Linked DNA regions of Homo sapiens: regions 2, 3, 4 and 5 are each linked to region 1. Evidence: promoter capture Hi-C in human tissues and cell types (Jung and others, 2019). All regions are on one chromosome and are shown on one strand. The core of a region is centred on a gene start or on the middle of the fragment in contact, and the rest is flanking DNA. Distances in the headings are between cores, read along the strand shown. Region 1 holds the start of BRD9 (bromodomain containing 9). Region 2 overlaps NDUFS6 (NADH:ubiquinone oxidoreductase subunit S6). Region 3 has its middle 73 kb from the start of LPCAT1. Region 4 holds the start of PDCD6 (programmed cell death 6). Region 5 holds the start of AHRR (aryl hydrocarbon receptor repressor).

Region 1 (2,524 bases), core at 18-2,517:
GTTGTGTGCAGGTGTCTATGAACTCTGGTGCAGTTGTACGTAGGTGTCTGTCCTCTAGGTGCAGCTGTGCTCTGGTGTGATTATGCCTAGCGTCTCTGGGCCCAGGTGTGGTTGTACATGGGGTGTCTCTAGGCTGCGGTGGCACTGTGTACAGGTGTCTCTGAGCGCTAAGGTGTTTACACAGGTGTCGCCAGGCTGTGATGGGGCTTTGTGCAGGTGTCTCTGGGCCCTGGTGCAATTATGCTGACGTGTCTGAACTCCAGCACCTAGAAAATACCCAGTCAACAGCTATTCTGTTAAAGGAAAGGTCTCTTCCTCTGCATCCCCTCTGAGGCTGGTGGTCTCACCTGACCTCAATCCACCCTCCGTGGACATAAGGAGGGTCTGTGAAGGTCTGGCCCCGCCGCTGAGTTCCCCCCACTCCAGGGAGCAGCACAGCCCACAGGCCCCACCATACCATGAACTGACTTGGTCACAAATGAGTGGGATGTGCTTTGAACCCTAAAAATTTAACATCGAGTCCGTGAGGAACGGGAACAATTAAAGGGTCTGAGAAGCAGTGGCTCAAAGAATAACCACCCAGCTTTCGGCTGAGACTAGAGCTCTCTGTAATGCGCAGCCATCCTATTCTCCAACGTGGGACTCAGGGCCACATCAATGCACTGGAGGACAGCCGGGGCAGGGGCAGGGTCAGGGCCAGGTCCGTGAGCTGAGGTCGGGTCGGGGCTCAATCTGTGAGCTGGGGTCCTGCGCGCAGGGCTCGGGTCGGCCGGGTCAGTGCCCTGCGGTGGGGTCGCGTCATTGCGCTAGGATCCGGTCGGGGCCCGGCGGCCTGTGCGCCCGGGTCCAGTCGGGCCGGATCAGTACCCTGGGGTTCGGTCGCATCAGAATCAGTGCGCTGGGGTCGGGGCTCGGTGCACGCGCTGGGGTCGGGGCGGGTGGGTGCCCAGAGGATGTGTCGGACAGGTCCGGCTCACCTGCTGCCGCGCTGATGCACCTCCACGTGGACCGTTGGCGACTCGGCCACACAGGGAAGCGCCTGCTTCAGGTCGCCCACGGCCTCGTCCATGGCGCCCCCGAGAGCAGTGGGGACCCAACCAGGGCGCGGCCGCCGCCACCTCACGCCCAGCGTCGCCGCCACAGCCGCTGCCTCAGCCCGCGGGCCCCGCCCTAGCTTCGAATCTGCCGCGCGAGGCGCACCACCTCCTGACCCGGAAGCGCTCGGGCCCGGCAGGGCCACTTCCTGCCGCGGCCCCGCCTCGCCCCGTTTCCGGCGCGGCCCAGCGAGCTCGGCAACCTCGGCGCAGCGAGCGCGGGCGGCCAGCCAGGGCCAGGGGGCGGTGGCGGCCAAGGTCCGACCGGGTGCCAGCTGTTCCCAGCCCCCGCCTCGGGCCCGCCGCCGGCGCCGCCATGGGCAAGAAGCACAAGAAGCACAAGGCCGAGTGGCGCTCGTCCTACGAGGGTGAGGCGGCGGCGCTTTGTGACGCGCGGCGGGCGGGGTCCCGGGCACGGGGGAGGAGTTCCGGGCACGCGGACGGGGGTCCTGGGCACCGGGCGAGGTCCTGGCCACGAGGGAGGGGTTCTGGGCACGCGGGAGGGGGTCCTGGGATTTCGGGCAGGGAACCGGGCACACGTGAGGGGTCCTGGGTAGGCGCTTACGTTCCTGGTAGAGGGTTCTGGGTTCGAGGCTGCAAGCCCACTCACCCCGGTCCTGGAGACTAGGGAAGCATCTGTGCTGGCTTTTGTGTGGAGCTCAGGGAGAAGCTGGGCTGCCCTTTCTCCCGCCTTTCCCTCCCTCTCCCTTGCTCCCGCAGCAGCTCCATGGGTGTCAGCGGGCAGCACGGGCGCCTGCAGGAAGTCAGGCGAGGGTGAACCGAAGTGCTGGGGGTTTCTAGGAGGGAGATCGGGCTCCGGGGTTCCAGGTCCCTCTTAATCCATCTTCTTGAACGAGTAATGTGAACAACATCCCACAGGGCCTCTGGTGAGGACACCGTGGCTCGAAAGGGACCTGAAGCTCCCTGCGGAGGGGAAGGGAGAACAAGGAGGCAGTGACATGCCGCCACTGTGGTCTTCCCTTCCGTCTTTCCCTGCTGGTTGGCAGCCCCGCTGTACTCCTTAGGGAGGCCTTTCCCTCTTAGCACCTTCACGTCTCACCTGGCTGCGTGGCGTTTGCACCTGAGCACGCGGGTAGAACTCGGTCTGTGTCTGTGCAGATTATGCCGACAAGCCCCTGGAGAAGCCTCTAAAGCTAGTCCTGAAGGTCGGAGGAAGTGAAGTGACTGAACTCTCAGGATCCGGCCACGACTCCAGTTACTATGATGACAGGTCAGACCATGAGCGAGAGAGGCACAAAGAAAAGAAAAAGAAGAAGAAGAAGAAGTCCGAGAAGGAGAAGCATCTGGACGATGAGGAAAGAAGGAAGCGAAAGGTAAAGGAGCAGCGGCGGTGGCCCGGACGCTGCCCACGAGGAGCCCGTGGGGAGCCTGGTCCCAGGACCCAGGCAGAGTGCGCCTGCGTGGCTGGA
Region 2 (2,524 bases), core at 19-2,518, 920 kb before region 1:
TCCTCGCTCCTCCCTTCTCTCCCCCTTCCCCTGGCCCCACCCCTTCACCTCTCCCCATCCCTGGTTATTCTGCATCCACATTTTCAGTTTCCTGGCCTGCTGCTCTTCCCTCTCTGGGCCCTCACGGGGACAGCTCACAGATGTCGCCACAGTTATTTCGAATCCAGGTGGCATCAATGTACTCCATCACATCTGTCTCCATTTTGTTTTCACGCCACTCCAAGAGGGAGCTTCAGCCTCCTTCCACCTCCACCCACCCAACCCAGAGACCTCCTGGATGCCTGCATCCCCTTCTTCCCTCTCCCCCTCCCAGACCTCCCAACTCAGCACCAAGGGCAACATGATTGGACTGTCCCTGCAGCCCGGGAGCATGGCCTCACACGCATGTCTGGGTAGCGTGCCACTGGAATGAACTGGTTCCCACTAGCAGCCGCTCCTGCCTCAGCCTCCCTCCCCACACCGAGGGCTGTGATCATGTCTGCTGGGTAAGGCCTTCTCCTCAAGGTATCTTCCCCAGTGGGGTCCAGGATGATGACCTCTGAACTCTCCCACATCCAAGAATGTCTTCCTCTCAGGATAAGGAATTTAACTTTGGTTATGCATGAAGATTGTGGACAATGTTTCACTCTTCCAGCCTCCAGCATCAAAGACAAAGAGGTGGATACCTGATCGCTGATCACTTTTCCACTACAATTTGTTTTCATCCATGCGCTTAAAAGGTTTTCTTTTTTCTAGACTCTAAAGTTTACAGCTTAATTCTTTTCTTAAACCAGAATATGCCTAGTTGTCTTTTCTCACCAATACTGCTAGGAACTTGGTGAGCCCTGTGATCTGTGGGTTTTTCTTTGGCTTGGGAAATGTGTTTCTGCTGTTTCTGCCTCACCTTCCCTCTCACCATCCCTCTCACCTTCCCTCTCACCTTCCCTCTCGCCTTCCCTCTCGCCTTCCCACTCGCCTTCCCTCTCGCCTTCCCACTCGCCTTCCCTCTCGCCTTCCCTCTCGCCTTCCCTCTCGCCTTCCCACTCGCCTTCCCTCTCGCCTTCCCACTCGCCTTCCCTCTCGCCTTCCCACTCGCCTTCCCTCTCGCCTTCCCACTCGCCTTCCCTCTCGCCTTCCCTCTCACCTTCCGTCTCACCTTCCCTCTTACCTTCCCTCTGCTCTGGTATTTCCTCCTCTGGAATTCCCGTTACTCACAGGCCAGACTCCTGGATCATTCTAGCAAGACTCCTTTCTCTTCCCTCAAAATCTACTTTTATTTTTATGTTACACTACATTATAATCCTTACTCTTTTAAAAACATAGACTGTCCTTAATGTGGCCAGTATGTGACTTTCGATGCCTTCAAACCAGTGCTTAAATTCTTGGGTTTTAAGATCTGACATTTCAACATAGGGACTAGGACGGACGGATAGACCAGCTCTGCAAGCCAGCAACAGGAGAGAGGCTGACCTTCCCATAGGACCAGTTGAGGCCTGGGCACCCTCCTTCACTATGCACCTCAAGACCCACCTTGGCTCTCTGAAGCACAGTTGCATCTGCAAAACAAGAGGCACTTCTCCTTCTCCTTCCCTGCCCCCCGCCCATTCCTGCAGCCCACGTGGCCCCAAGGATAAGAGGAGACACACAGAAGCAGCCGGTAAGGCAGGCAGCGGCCGGCAGGAGGCAGCTCAGGCTCACTGGAGCGGGCACTGCTTCCACTCGCATGTCTACCCATGTCCACGTGGATGTTCACTTCCAAAGCCCAGACTATGAAAGAAACAAACTTACAAATTGTCAGCCTTGACAGCAACACCCTTTATTCAGCACCAGGAATACCCTTCGCACAGAACCAGCGAGCTTCACGTGCTCAGCTTCCCCGCGGAAATGCTCACAGGATGCTGCGGGACCCCCGGCGTGCCACACGCTCTAGTGGTGGTGCTGTCTGAACTGGAGCCCACAGTAACCGCATGTGCCGGTTTTTGTTTCTTTGTCCTGAAAAAATTCAAAAGGAATGATGTCATATTTCCATATTCTACTTCAAATCTAGATATTAAGCATTGAAAATGTATGTATAAAACTTAGACTGTCAGAAACAAAAATACGCAGTTACTACTGAAGTAAGAATGCAGACTGTCGATCTCGGTTCCAGGCTGACCGAAGCCCCTGGCCTCAGGCTCCCACCCCGGGCTACGCAGCCATCCCCTAGGACCCCCAGGGACATCACTGTCAGCCTGCAGCTCCATTCACTCCCCACACCTCAGCGGCCTGGAGCAGGCGGTGGGTGCTGCACACGACAGTGAGGCACAACCAGGCTTGGCCTTCAGGGCTGGAGCCCAGGAGGGGACATGCCGGGTGCCCAGTCCCACTCTAGGCTGCTTAACCATTTATGCCTGTTACACTGTCCCCTTTTCAGGACAGGCAACAAGATAATGACAGCTTTTAATAAATGTCAGCTCTAACGAAGTTAAAGTCCCTTAACCAGGACTCTGCTTTGGGGAGAACACCAAGCCCAGCAGCCGCCTGAGTCCCTGAGTGCTCCACTGTC
Region 3 (2,524 bases), core at 11-2,510, 700 kb before region 1:
TCCGCCCTGGAATTAGGCCGGATATTCCAATTTGGGGGATCATTTAGGTTATTCATGGAGATATACCTTGAAGTAAAGAATAAAAACGTTAACTACTTTTATTCAAGAAATTTTTCTTCAGTTTTAACTATGTGCTTGCTGCACAGCACTGAGGCCCTACGGGATTCAAAGAAGAAAAAAACTAGACCAGAGCCGGGCATGGTGGCGGGCACCTGTAGTCCCAGCTACTCGGGAGGCTGAGGCAGGAGAATCGCTTGAACCTGGGAGGTGAAGGTTGCAGTGAGTCGAGGTCGCGCCACTGCACTCCAGCCTGGTGACAGAACGAGACTCCGTCTCAAAAAAAAAGAAAAAGAAAAAGGAAAAAAAAACAAGACCTTAGGTGAAAGCGACTCACAATCTGGTTGGGGAAAGTGGAGAAAACAGACATGTCTTAAGCATCTGAAGTGCAGGTAGAATCAGGTAAGTTCTCTGGTACAAATATATTTAAATGTATGGCTGCTGCGATGGTTAATTTTGTTTGTCAACTTGACGGCATCATGAGGTGCTCAGATACATGGTTAAGCATTATTTCTGGGCGTGTCTGTAAGGGTGTTTTTGGATGAGATTAGCAATTGAACCTTTAAACCAATTTCTTACGTCTCCCTTCTATTTGTTGTGTCTCTGGAGAACCCTCATACAGTTGTATCAAAGATACAGAATCAACTCAATAAAAGTGGGCTCACACCAGACACTTTCATATGAGCTAGGGTTTGAAGAGTGAGCAGCATTTTGACAGGCAGAGAAAGAAGGAAAGGGTCTTCTGATCAGAAGGAAGACTGTGAGGAAGGCAGGGAGGGGTGATGTGGGGAAGGTGCAAACAGTGCTAGAAGCTTCTGAGGCCTCCTCATGGTGGTGATGAATGCAGAGATTACAGAGCTCTCTGCTTCGGGCTCAGCATGCACCCTCCATAGCTAGGCTGGGGGCTAACGTTAGTAAGAATTTACTGATTTACTGAGTACCTACACGAAGTTTCACATTTTCACAAAGTAGAGTCACTTTAAGTTTATTTACATGTGACCTCCACAAATACACACAATTACAAAATAGTCAAGGGATGTATAATAAGCAAGAAATGCAATCCAATTTCTGAAAGCTTTTCATGGGATTTTCAACAAATACTTAATATCTAAAGATAGAAAATTATAAGCAATAAAGATATGACAAAAATATGTCTTGGAGCTTAATACTAAGGGGTTTGTGGTGTGGAGAAAAGCAAGAGAGATCAGATTGTTACTGTGTCTGTGTAGAAAGAAGTAGACATAGGAGACTCCATTTTGTTCTGTACTAAGAAAAATTCTTCTGCCTTGAGATTCTGTTAATCTATAACCTTACCCCCAACCCCGTGCTCTCTGAAACGTGTGCTGTGTCAACTCAGAGTTAAATGGATTAAGGGCGGTGCAAGATGTGCTTTGTTAAACAGATGCTTGAAGGCAGCACTCTCCTTAAGAGTCATCACCACTCCCTAATCTCAAGTACCCAGGGACACAAAAACTGCGGAAGGCCACAGGCACCTCTGCCTAGGAAAGCCAGGTATTGTCCAAGGTTTCTCCCCATGTGATAGTCTGAAATATGGCCTCGTGGGAAGGGAAAGACCTGACCGTCCCCCAGCCCGACACCCGTGAAGGGTCTGTGCTGAGGAGGATTAGTATAAGAGGAAGGCATGCCTCTTGCAGTTGAGACAAGAGGAAGGCATCTGTCTCCTGCCCGTCCCTGGGCAATGGAATGTCTCGGTATAAAACCCGATTGTATGCTCCATCTACTGAGATAGGGAAAAACCGCCTTAGGGCTGGAGGTGGGACCTGCGGGCAGCAATACTGCTTTGTAAAGCATTGAGATGTTTATGTGTATGCATATCTAAAAGCACAGCACTTAATCCTTTACATTGTCTATGATGCAAAGACCTTTGTTCACGTGTTTGTCTGCTGACCCTCTCCCCACTATTGTCTTGTGACCCTGACACATCCCGCTCTCGGAGAAACACCCACGAATGATCAATAAATACTAAGGGAACTCAGAGGCTGGCGGGATCCTCCATATGCTGAACGCTGGTTCCCCGGGTCCCCTTATTTCTTTCTCTATACTTTGTCTCTGTGTCTTTTTCTTTCCTAAGTCTCTCGTTCCACCTTACGAGAAACACCCACAGGTGTGGAGGGGCAACCCACCCCTACATGTGGTAATTATAGAATTAAAAAATTAAGGCCAGGCACGGTGGCTCACGCCTGCAATCACAGCACTTCGGGAGGCTGAGGCAGGTGGATCACCTGAGGTCAGGAGTTTGAAACCAGTCTGGCCAATATGGTGAAACCCTGTCTCTACTAAAAATACAAAAACTAGCTGGGCGTGGTGGCGGGGGCCTGTAGTCCCAGCTACTCGGGAGGCTGAGGCGAGAGAATCTCTTTGTTTTTTGAGGGGCAGTCTTGCTCTGTTGCCCAGGCTGGAGTGCAGTGGCTCGAACTCCGCTCACTGCAAGCTCCACAGGAGAATC
Region 4 (2,524 bases), core at 25-2,524, 620 kb after region 1:
AAGCATCTCCACTACGAAGCAGTAATAACAATTTGTCCTAATGATTCCTTTGTCCTTGGAAAAACAACTTCAGAAAGTTATCCACTGTGAACAGGGCAGGCTCGCGGCTTCTTGGTCCGGAGACCCAGTTCCCACTGGCCCACTCACCGTTGGAGAGAGCTTGCTGAAGCTCGGTGTCTGATATCACTCCACTCCTGTCTTTATCGACCCTATAACATCAAGAAGACCAAATAAGCTGGCGATCGAAAGTTCAGGAAAAGCAAAACAAACGTCTTCTGTCAACCCTGCACCGACTCTGGAAGGCTCCCTCCTGGAACCTCCGCCTCTCCCGTCCCGCTGAGGAGTACAGCGGAATCAAGGAAGTGCCCCAGGAGCCGACGTCCAGTGTGGTCTTCCCCTAAGAGGACAATCATCTTCACCTCAATCCTTCCCTTCCTTCCTCTCCTGGCCTGTCTGAATTCCCATTTGCACCCGTTTCCCTTTTTCACAGACAAGACAAGATTCCCTCAGATAACTAAGCCATTCCCTGGCCATCAGTCACTACAGTTTCGGACATTCGGTGGAAAAGCGACCAGGGACAGAAGGCGCCGCCATAAAGGTCACCTGGCCCGAGCAGACGCCAGGTCGCTGCTTCTTCCTTGGCTGCTGACATTTTAACAGCGCCCAGGCAGTCTGTTTCCGCTTTCCCCAAACAAGCACCCTGGAGACCCTCCACCTGGCGGCTCTTGAGGCGAGAAAAAGGGCCTAGCCCAGGAGCCGGTGGCCGCGACCTCGGGTCTGCAGTGGCGCACTCTGCATCTTGGGAAGGGCCCGACGCACAGGACAGGGACCGGGCAGGAGGCAGGGGCGGCCCCAGGAGACCGGGCAGCGGACGGGGGAGACCGCGGGGGACCCGCCAGGGGACGGGGGCGGCCGCGTCGGCTGGGGCAGGGGTCGGGGGCGGCGGCAGGGGACGGGAGGGGGCCGCGGGGGACCCGACAGGGGACGGAGGAGGCCGCAGTAGAACCGGCAGGGAACGGGGTTGGTCGGGGGAGTCGGGACAGGGGTCGGGGCCGCCGCGGCGGAGGCGGGAGGTGCCCGGGCGGTGCCAGGCCGCACCTCTGGAAAACGTTCCACAGGAAGCTCTGGTCCGGCAGCGCCGCGCCTGCAGCAGGCCCAGGGCCGGCCCCAGGGCCGGGGCGGTAAGAGTAGGCGGCCATGGGCCAAGGCACGCGGCTGGGCTGAGGCGCCTGCAGCGACGAGAGACCTCTCAGGCCGACTCCGCTTCCGCCTCTGCCGGGGGCAGGGCCTGGCATTATCACCACTTCCGGGGGCGCAGGAAATGCGTGGTCTCCGGGATGGTCACGGGGTCCCGCGCAGCCAATCCCCTCGCAGCTAAGTTGCCAGGCAACGCCCTGGCGCCTGCGGGGAGGGCGGGGTCTGGGCGCCTGGAGGAAGCCAGAGCTTTGGCGCAGGCCGCCTGCGCGCTGTGCCAGGAAAGCGCTTGGAGAAAATGTCCGGCCCCGCGACCTGGGACAGGAAGTGATGGAGCACGGACTTAGTTTGCCTTTCAGTTCTTGTATAAATAGTTTTGAGGTGAATGTGATTTGCTAACAGTCGGAAACTCTGGGCGGGGCGCGGTAGCTCACACCTGTGATCCCTGCCCTTTGGGAGGCGGAGGCGGGCGGAGCTCTTGAGCCCAGCAGTTCGGACCAGCCTGGGCAGCATGGATAGACCCCATCCCTACAAAAATTACAAAAAGTAGTCGGGCGTGGTGGGCTCCTGTGGTCCCATCTACTCCGTGGGCTGAGGCGGGAGGATTGCCTGAGCCCGGGAGGTCAAGGCCGCAGGGAGCCGAGCTCACTGCACTACAGGGGTGGACAGCGAGACTCTGCCAAAAAAAAAAAAAAAAAAAAGAAAGCAAAAGCAGGCCGGGCGCGGTGGCTCACGCCTGTAATCCCAGCACTTTGGGAGGCCAAGGCCAGTGGATTACCTGAAGTCGGGAGTTCGAGACCAGCCTTGGCCAATTGGGAGACACCCCGTATCTACTAAAAATACAAAACTAACCGGGCGTGATGGTGCACACCTGTAATCCCAGCTACTCGGGAGGCTGAGGCAGGAGAATTGCTTGAAACCGGGAGGAGGAGGTTGCAGTGATCCGAGATCGGGCCATTGCACTCCAGGCCTGGGCAACAAGTGCAAAACTCTGTCTCAAAAAAAAAAAAAAAAAAAAGTCAAAACACAATTCGGGTGGGAAAGGCAGTGTGCAGCATTCTCGGTTGTCTGTTCCGCCCCCAAAAGCTTCCCTCCTTTAGGTTTAACCTGCGCCCCCGTGCTCTGCATCAGCGCGGCCCCTGACCCCGTGCAGCTGGAAACACTGCTGGGCCCCTTCACACCCCTGCCTGCTGGGCCCCTTCACACCCCGGTGGTGGTGCAGCCCTGCCTCCCGCAAGACAGCACTGCCTTCGTGCTGGACACAGTTCTAAGGTGGAGCCTGGAGTGCCTGTAGCACAAATCCCGGAATTGGGAAGTGCCCAGCTTTGGG
Region 5 (2,524 bases), core at 1-2,500, 570 kb after region 1:
CTAAGAACCTTTCTCCCGTGGTAAAACTCGTGTCTGTTCATTTTAGAGAATACAGATAAGTAAGAAAACGAAAATAAAAGCCGTTCCCCAGGCGGTGGCGTCCCCCCCGTCGAAGCGGCTCCCCAGGCGGCGGCGTCCGCCGGGTCAGCATCCTACGTTCTCCAGTTCTTGTTACTCGTGGCTTTTCAGCGACTCTGGGGCCGCATCGAGCCCCGGCTTTGTGCGGGATGGGTATGGCACACTCGGCCCGAGTCCAAACGCCGCCAGTCACTTGCTCTGAGAGGCTGGATGAGCGACCTACCTTGATGTCCTCGTTCGTAAAATGGGTGACGGTTGCCAGGCCGGGGCGGCTGTGAGGCCCCGTGGGGGTGGCGTTTGGAGAACGCGCGCACACGCCCACCCTTCTGCAAGAACCCCGCAGACGAGAGCCTGTGCGCGCGCACAGGAGGCCCAGGGAGGAAGCCCCTCCCCGCCTGCCCTTGCCATCCCGGAGGCCACAGCCGGACAGGCCCGTGGGACAGGCCCGTGGGACGCTTCTGCACAAGGTCTCTGACCTCCGGCCTCGCAGAAGAGGTCAGAGGGTGGCCCCTGCCTGTCACGCGCCCATGGCGACCCCTCCCCAGAAGGGGTCCCAGCGTGGACTCCAGGCGCCACATCGCTCTCTCAGGGCATCCGGTCTGGGAATTCTGGCCGCTCAAAATAAGACTTCAGCGCTACTGGGTGCTACTGAAACCAAGCCTGAACATGGGCCTTTCCCGGGGGTGAGGCCCCCCGGACCTGGCGCCCTCGGCCCGACAGCGGGGCCCCGCTCCGCCGCCCGCACCCGCCCAGCCCCAGGGAGCGCGGCCCGCACGGAACGCCCGGGGAGTGAAGGCTCAGAACACTCTCGAGGGGACGCTGAGGACCACGAACCGTGGACGCGCCGCGGCTTCCCTCCGAGGTCCGAGTTTTAAGTGAGACCAGCCAGCCGCACCCCAGAGTGTCCGCCCCGTCCCGGGGCCGCCGGGCCTGGCGACGCGAGGATGCGGCGTGAGGAGGGTCCCGACGCCGGCGCCCGTCCCTCAGCCCCACACCCGGGAGCGCATCCCGTCTCCACCGCGGGCGGCACGCGGCGGGGGCCTGCGGGGGCGCCCAGGACACTTACCCAGGGCCTGCGGGGCGCGGAGGCTCAGGCACACCCGCGGGGCAGCGCGCCCTGGCCAGGAGCTGTGGCGGCGGGTGCCGGCGCTCGCATCCCGGGAACCCGCGGCGGCTCCAGGGACTGCCCCACCCCGGCACGCGAGCCGCCCGCCCCGCCCCGCAGCATCCAGGGCCGGGAGGCGGCAGAGGGCGCCCGCGGGTCCGGCTGTCTCGGGTCCGGCTGCCCCAGCTGCCCTGGCGAACCGGAGACGCCATCCGGTTCCCCTGGGGTCCGCCCTGCGCCCTTCGCGTCCCAGTGATCCCCCGGAGTCTCCGTGCCCCGAGGCGGGGGTCGCGCGCTGAGCCCCTCCAGGCCCTGCGTTCCCCCTGGGGTCTGTGTGCGCCCAGGGTCCCCCGGTTCTCCCTGCGCCCCCGTCCCCTCCCCAGCGCTCGCGGCCGGCTGTGCTGAGCTGCCGGCCCTAGAGCCGGGCGGTGTAGACCCGAACAGGTAAAGTGAGGAGAGCGTGTGCCCCCTCGCCTGCCCCATGAGGTCGTTTCGAAAATGTAAAAGGAGTCATGGTTTTTGGCGAATTATAGAGAATATTAAGATGCTTTTGGATCCTGAGCTTCCCAGGAAGCGGACGCGCGCCAGGCACGGCAGGGTCGTCCGTGCGACGTTCTTCGTCCTGGGCATTTCAGGGTCCCACGCGGCAGGTGTGCGGCCCTGGGTGCCCCTGCCCCGCCCACCCCGCCGGTCGGCACCCGGGACCGCGCGGCCGAGAGCAGGGTCCTGCCTGCAGGTCCTTAGGGCTCACCCCGCGCCCTCTGCGCGCCCGCCGGCCCCTCCGACCTCGGGCTGCGCCTTCTCCTTCCCCCTCCCGGTGGTCCTTGGCCCCCTCTAGTCCTCCGTCCGGGCGCGCAGGCCCTGGCTGAATTCCCTGTACCCTCAGGGGATCCCTGGGGACACCTCAGCCTGGCCTCGCACCCTGACGTCTCCACAGACCCTGGCCGGCTTCCACCCGTTCTCGCCCTCGCTGGGGCCGGCCATGGAGTCGGTGGTCCCTGGAGTCCGCTCCTCAGCATCCGCGGTCCTCATCCCAGCCGGGGGAACCGCGCCCTCTTCATCCCGCAAGGTCGGTTTTCAGCAACGCGGCCGAGGCTGTCACTGGCGCCCCCAGGTTCTCAGTCAAACCCCGTCTCCCTGACGCCCCCAACCCGCCCCGCGCCTCCTGCTGTTCTCTGAATAAGGCGTGCGGGCCTTGGGGCCTTTGCACTCGCTGTCTGCTGTCGGCTCAGGAAAAGTCTCTTTTCCAGACACAGCTCCCAAGGTGGGGTGGGCGCAGCTGAGAAGCCCACCCTGCCCCCAAGTGGCCACCGCCCCTCCCCGGGTGTAGCTCCTGCAGGG

What was found. The method cuts DNA at HindIII sites, captures the fragments that hold promoters and counts their contacts. A contact is called where the count stands out against the background at its distance.
Region 2: a fragment that was not itself captured here is called in contact with the fragment with the promoter of BRD9 in region 1 in 1 of the 25 tissues and cell types used here (dorsolateral prefrontal cortex).
Region 3: a fragment that was not itself captured here is called in contact with the fragment with the promoter of BRD9 in region 1 in 3 of the 25 tissues and cell types used here (aorta, bladder and heart right ventricle).
Region 4: the fragment with the promoter of PDCD6 here is called in contact with the fragment with the promoter of BRD9 in region 1 in 2 of the 25 tissues and cell types used here (bladder and heart right ventricle).
Region 5: a contact is called between the fragment with the promoter of AHRR here and the fragment with the promoter of BRD9 in region 1, in 2 of the 25 tissues and cell types used here (lymphoblastoid cells and mesenchymal stem cells).

What each region holds. Positions count from the first base shown.
Region 1 is chr5:891,544-894,067 of GRCh38, reverse strand. BRD9 (bromodomain containing 9) reads left to right here and starts at 1,267. Exons shown (of 16, transcript NM_023924.5): 1 at 1,267-1,462; 2 at 2,214-2,428. The coding sequence starts at 1,411. It overlaps TRIP13 (thyroid hormone receptor interactor 13), which reads right to left and starts at 1,184. Exons shown (of 13, transcript NM_004237.4): 1 at 978-1,184. The coding sequence starts at 1,069. RefSeq lists silencers at 898-1,517, 1,708-1,926 and an enhancer at 1,266-1,898. The HindIII fragment of the contact is 22,788 bases long and covers 1-2,524 here.
Region 2 is chr5:1,815,298-1,817,821 of GRCh38, reverse strand. NDUFS6 (NADH:ubiquinone oxidoreductase subunit S6) reads right to left here. Exons shown (of 4, transcript NM_004553.6): 4 at 1,774-1,971. The coding sequence ends at 1,906. Among named protein-coding and RNA genes, the nearest start is that of NDUFS6, 15 kb to the right of the region's middle. RefSeq lists enhancers at 1-307, 308-809, 1,531-2,042. The HindIII fragment of the contact is 9,600 bases long and covers 1-2,524 here.
Region 3 is chr5:1,595,661-1,598,184 of GRCh38, reverse strand. It overlaps the pseudogene PDCD6P1. Among named protein-coding and RNA genes, the nearest start is that of LPCAT1, 73 kb to the right of the region's middle. The HindIII fragment of the contact is 3,047 bases long and covers 1-2,524 here.
Region 4 is chr5:270,396-272,919 of GRCh38, reverse strand. It overlaps PDCD6 (programmed cell death 6), which reads right to left and starts at 1,274. Exons shown (of 6, transcript NM_013232.4): 1 at 1,099-1,274; 2 at 148-209. The coding sequence starts at 1,199. PDCD6-DT (PDCD6 divergent transcript) reads left to right here and starts at 1,396. Exons shown (of 2, transcript NR_104613.1): 1 at 1,396-1,575. PDCD6-AHRR (PDCD6-AHRR readthrough (NMD candidate)) reads right to left here and starts at 1,274. Exons shown (of 13, transcript NR_165163.2): 1 at 1,099-1,274; 2 at 148-209. RefSeq lists a silencer at 982-1,191 and enhancers at 1,482-1,571, 2,233-2,524. The HindIII fragment of the contact is 6,729 bases long and covers 1-2,524 here.
Region 5 is chr5:320,440-322,963 of GRCh38, reverse strand. It overlaps AHRR (aryl hydrocarbon receptor repressor), which reads right to left and starts at 1,250. Exons shown (of 11, transcript NM_001377236.1): 1 at 1,145-1,250. All of the region lies in intron 3 of PDCD6-AHRR (PDCD6-AHRR readthrough (NMD candidate)), which reads right to left. RefSeq lists enhancers at 239-358, 447-1,014 and silencers at 599-658, 669-1,048, 1,139-1,628, 1,779-2,038. The HindIII fragment of the contact is 29,634 bases long and covers 1-2,524 here.